Linked DNA regions of Homo sapiens: region 1 is linked to region 2. Evidence: promoter capture Hi-C in human tissues and cell types (Jung and others, 2019). All regions are on one chromosome and are shown on one strand. Each heading gives the region's core, a stretch centred on a gene start or on the middle of the fragment in contact. The rest is flanking DNA. Distances are from core to core; before and after follow the strand shown. Region 1 has its middle 37 kb from the start of PTGFRN. Region 2 holds the start of PTGFRN (prostaglandin F2 receptor inhibitor).

Evidence for each region. The method cuts DNA at HindIII sites, captures the fragments that hold promoters and counts their contacts. A contact is called where the count stands out against the background at its distance.
Region 1: a fragment that was not itself captured here is called in contact with the fragment with the promoter of PTGFRN in region 2 in 1 of the 25 tissues and cell types used here (aorta).

What each region holds. Positions count from the first base shown.
Region 1 is chr1:116,871,287-116,873,986 of GRCh38, forward strand. No RefSeq gene overlaps it. Among named protein-coding and RNA genes, the nearest start is that of PTGFRN, 37 kb to the right of the region's middle. RefSeq lists an enhancer at 1-35. The HindIII fragment of the contact is 5,519 bases long and covers 1-2,700 here.
Region 2 is chr1:116,908,499-116,911,198 of GRCh38, forward strand. PTGFRN (prostaglandin F2 receptor inhibitor) reads left to right here and starts at 1,418. Exons shown (of 9, transcript NM_020440.4): 1 at 1,418-1,754. The coding sequence starts at 1,706. The HindIII fragment of the contact is 8,899 bases long and covers 1-2,700 here.

The sequences.
Region 1 (2,700 bases), core at 65-2,564, 37 kb before region 2:
CACCAACTTTTTTCTTTTTCTTTTTTTTTTTCTGAGACAGAGTCTCTTTCCATCACCAGGCTGGAGTGCAGTGGCATGATCTCGGTTCACTGCAACTTCCACCTCCCAGGTTCAAGCGAGTCTCCTGCCTCAGCCTCCCGAGTAGCTGGGATTACAGGCACTCGCCACGACATCCGGCTAATTTTTTGTATTTTTAGTAGAGATGGGGTTTCACTACGTTGGCCAGTCTGGTCTCAAACCCCTGACCTCATGATCCACCCACCTCAGCCTCCCAAAGTGCTGGGATTACAGGCGTGAGCCATGGCGCCTGGCGAGGCACCATCTTTAAAGATTAACTACCAGGGTATTCAGTGAATACTTGTGGGATGAAGGAAGGCAGAAAGGGAGGGGAGATGGTGGGAGGGAAGTAACTGGAAAATTTACAAAAAAGAAAATGAGGAAGGAAAGGAGACAGCAGAAAAGGAAGGAGAAAAGGAGATGTGGATTTCTGAATATGATGACAGTATTATAGCCCGGGAATAAAATCCATCCTTTCCTGCCTGACCCTTCTTTCCCATCTCCCTCAAGTTGCATAATAACCTGCTTGGAAGCAGAAATTCAACTAACGCCACATATCAGAACTGGAGCGCTCTTGGCAGAATCTTCTACAATTTATACCCCAAGTTCAAATTTAAGCCAAGGCATATTTCCAAGGAAAGAACAACACAGTACTTTATCTTGATGTTGCTCCTCACCCTTGGTGATTTCAAAGCAGGTTTATAAACAAGCGCTGTCATTGTGCAAGAGAGGAAATGGAAGGGAACTAGTAATATTTAGGTAACCAATAACAAAATCTTTGAGTCAATATTATAGTGAAATGATTAAGTAATTACGTGGAATCAGAGGCAGACTACAACTGCATCAAATTAATAAAGTAGAATTTGGAAGAAATAAGATATAAAAATTTCCACATAAAAACTGAAGTCAATTGAGGCTGTAAGGAGCTAGAAATTAAAAATAGATTTATACCAAACTAGGTAGAACAAAATTGAAACAGTTGTTGAGATATTAAAAATGGATTTGCTTTTAAAACCGTTTGGAATAGTTTAGTCATTTTCCAGAGCCATAGATATTCTGTGCCAGTTGAGCACTTTTTCCCAAACCAACCTGGCAGACGGTTGTCTAATCAGGAAGCTTTGCAGGCAAGTTCCTTGGCTAAAACCCATAGGAATAAATGAATTTGGGTTTCTAAAGTTCCAGTGTCTCAGTACAAAGAGAGATAGGTAACCCTTTTTCCTAGAGATACTGATGATGATATAAATTGTGGTATGACAGAATGCAAATTCCCTAAGCTTGGAATTCTCCTCTAACTGACATGTCACAGAATAAGATGGCATCATGTTTACTTCAATTTGTGGTCTCTCTAAACCACTTTGGTCTTTGGCCCCCAGATCTGCCCATTTCAGGGAAACTGGAGTAACTCAAAAAAGTAACTTGTCATGAATTAGTTAGGATTAGGTTTGGCAGCAGGATATTGAACTCTCCCTACTCCCCAACACCTTCACCTCCCTTAAAAAACAATAACAAAAAAAAAAACCAGTGGCTTAAACAACATGAAAGTTTATTTCTCTTTCATATAAGCCTGAATAGGTAGTCCACAGATGGTAAAGGGCTCCACAGTGCAGGGAATCAGATTTTTTTTATTTTTATTTTTCTGCCTTAACTGCATAATCTCCACTTCCTAAATCATCCTATCGTCCAAAATGAATGCTTGAGCTCCATCCCGCATATCCCATTCCATCCAGGAGAAAGAAGAAAAAGGTAGAGAGCAGGAAAAGCTCCCTGCCTTTAAGAACACTTTCCAGAAGTTGCTCACACTACTTCTACTTACATCTAACTAACCAAACGTTAATCCCATGACCGGGAGAGAATCAAGAAGACTGGGAAGCAGTCCTTCTAGCAGCAGGTGCCTAGCTAAACATTTAAGGTCCTAATACTTTAAAATAGAAGAAAACAAATGTTGTGAGACAATTAAACAGTCTCTCTGCTACAGTTTATCCCTTTGGCCTCCCCAAATATATGGGCATCCCCATGTAGGACACAATCCCTCCTCAAGGGGAAGAAACCCAGGGACTGCCTCCAGATCAAAGTCAAGATCTCTGAGTGAAGTGTAGTCTCCGTCTTCAAATCCAGATATGATGTTCACAATCTTGCAAGCTGTTTTAGTCTGTTCAGGTTGCAATAACAAAATACCTTAGACTGTGTACTTTATAAATAATATAAATTTATTTCTTACAATTCTGGAGGTTAGGAAGTCGAAGATTAAGGCACCAGCAAATTTAGTGTCTGGTGAGGGCTCTCTGCCTCGAAGATGGCACCTATTGCTGAATTGTCACATGGTGGGAGGGCAAAAAAGGGCCAGACTCCCTTCAGGCCCTCTTATAAGGGTACTAATTTCATTCGTGATGTCGTCACCTGCTGAAGACTACCCCCCGACCCCTTACTATGATGACATTGGGGATTAAGTTTCAACATGAATTTTGGAGGAGCCATATTCAAACCATAGCACAAACCATAAACTAAAAGATTAGTTATCTTTCCCATAACCCACTACATATGCAGTGATGTAGTAAGAACAAGAAAACCACAATTAAAACTACCAGTCAGAAAATGTGAAAGTCCCAGAAGTCGATCTATAGTAATTATCAAATCCTGCTGAGC
Region 2 (2,700 bases), core at 168-2,667:
GTTCCAGCTACTTGAGAGGTGGAGGTGGGAGGATTGCTTGAGCCTGGGAGGTCAAGGCAGCAGTGATCCCTGATCGCACCACTGCACTCCGGCCTGGGTGACAGATCCTCATTTTGAGACCCTGTCTCAAAAATGAAAGAAAGAAAGAAGACAAAACAAATAAAAACTCCTGGCCTCAAGCAACACCATCCCTGCCCCCCGCCTCCCCCTGCCCCCCCAACCTCAGCCTTCTGAGTAGCTAGCATTACAAGTACCAGTTACCAGGCCTGGCAATTTTAAACATTTCTAAGTGTACCATTCAGTGGCATTAAGTACAATAACGTTGCACCACCAGGAATGAATTTTTAAGTCTCTTTCCAAAGATACCTGGCTAATCACACATTTGATAGTGGGGAAATAAGAAACATTTGTTGGTTGAAAGACGGATGCATGAGAGTAAAAGCAGTGTTCTTCCCCAGTGTGGGCAGTTTCCGCATAAGCATCTGCGATCCGTTTTGCATGTGAATGAAAGCCCAGTGACGGGCAGTGGGCACCAGTGCTGCTCCTTGCGTGTTTGAATCATGCTTGCTAAGTTTCAAGCAAGGAATGCTCCATTTCTCCCAACCAAGTCGGGCCTTTTGTATTCAAATCAAAAGCACAAAACTCTATTGTAGGGGGAAAAATGAGTCTTTATTGGCAATCAGTGGTGTCCACTTAGAGCAATAAATATTAAGTCTTAAGAGTACATTCTATATGAAGTACTATAGCTATTAATACACTTGGGTTTTGTTTGTTTTTTAAATGGGTGTCTTTGTGGGGTGCTGTTCTAATCAGTGCCACAGGCGCCGAGGAGAGGGAGGGAGCTGGGTAAGGAAGGAGACAGGCCCACCCTAGCCACCGGGGAGTGGGCAGAGTCAGGAGAGCGGGGTTCTGATTTTGCCCCTTCCCTGTGAATCCTTGGGCACCTCACCGAAACACTTAAGGCCTCTGTATGGTAGAGGTTGGAATCCGTGGCCTTTAAAAGTCCTTTCAGCTCCTTCGCTCCTATCTGCATAATTTTTGGCATAGGCCAAGCGGCTGGTTGGTGGGGTGTTTAGCTCAGGACGAGAGGCCGAACGAGCGGGGAGTTGGCTGAGGATAGACTAGACACGCGTGGGTGACTCCAGCGTGATGGAACGCGGGGTGTCCCGGGATAGGGCTAAAGCGATGGGATTTCCAGACGAGTCTTTCCCAGGCCAACTTTTAAAGGTCGGAGGAAAGTTTCTCGTGGGGTGGGGGCCCAGAGGGGATGGCAGGGTGGGCTCCGACGCCTCCTCGCCTTTAAGCGGGTGGCCCCGGCTCTTCCTCCGTTACCTGGAGCGGGGAGGGGCTTGGGAAAGTTTGTGTTTGTTGCTGGCAAAGCGCCGGATGGGAGGCGCGGGCGGGCGCTGCGGTTCTTCCCTTCTGCTTTCGGGAAGCGGTCGGGGCTGCACACTCGGATCGGCGGGGCCGGCTCCCGGGCCCGGCCGGCTGGAGGAGGGAGGGAAGGAGGCGGGAGGGAGCGAGCGGAGCCAGGGGCGCACGTACGCCCCAGCGCTGGGATTTATCGGCTCGCGAGGAGAGCGGAGCAGGCGCGCGGCCCAGGCGGAGGAGCGCCGACTCTGGAGCAGCCGGAGCTGGAAGAGGAGGAGGAGGAGAGGCGGCGGGGAAGGAGGAGGAGGGGGAGAGTCGCTCCCGCCGGGCGAGCATGGGGCGCCTGGCCTCGAGGCCGCTGCTGCTGGCGCTCCTGTCGTTGGGTGAGTGTGCGCGGGGCTCAGCGGGGCACACGGGGACTGGCGAGGCCCTGGAGGGCTCGGCGGGGCGCGGCTGCAGCGCGCGGCCTGGGGCGCCGAGGGTGCCCGGGCTGCTCCCGGGAAACCCGGCCGGGGTGCGCGGGTTGTTCGGCCCGGCGGGGAGCGGCCGCGGGGCCGCCCGGAGCCTGGCGCGAATCCGCTCGGGCCCCGCGCGCGGGGTGCAAGTGGCCGCTCCGCCAGGCCGAGCCTCGCCCCCAACATGTGCCGGGGGGAGTGGCCCGGGGCCGTCTTTCCCCCAGGTCTCCCTACCTGTTGGCCGCCGGGAGCCCGGCTCACCTTGAACTCCCGGCCCGGAAGGTGCTGCGGTCCCGGCCCGGGTCCTCGGCTCGAGAGCGGAAATGTGAGCCTTTGATATGCCCCGCCATAGCCGCCGCCGGCCGGGTCGCTCTTCACCCAACCCGCGCGGAGTTGCCTTTCCAGGGAAGCGAGAGAATCCTCCAACTTCCTTCCACGAAGGTCACAGGGTGGCCCGGAGCGTTACAATGGAAATCGGCGGGCGAGTCCTGCCGTCATTTTCGTCGTGGCTAGATCTTCTGCCTCAGTCTTTTCTTTTAGCTTTTCTTGAAGCTGCCTAGCTGCGTATTTATACACAAAGACCTAAAAGCCTGGCTTCTCCAACTTTTTCTACCTGTTACTTTCCCTCCCTTACTATCCCCTCGTCTTCCACCCTCCGGAAACCCTGGGTGCCCCGTGAGGTTTTGGCCCAGCGCCCTCCCCCCACCCAAGGAATCTTTTGTGGGTTTTTTCCCTCTCCATTTTCCATTCACTCCATACACAGACACCATCTTCACGTAGATCCACATGGTGATCCTAGCCAGCCACGGAAATATGTTTATTAAGTGCCCACCATGGTACCCCAGGGCCGACTCTTAAATGTTTTGATATTCTT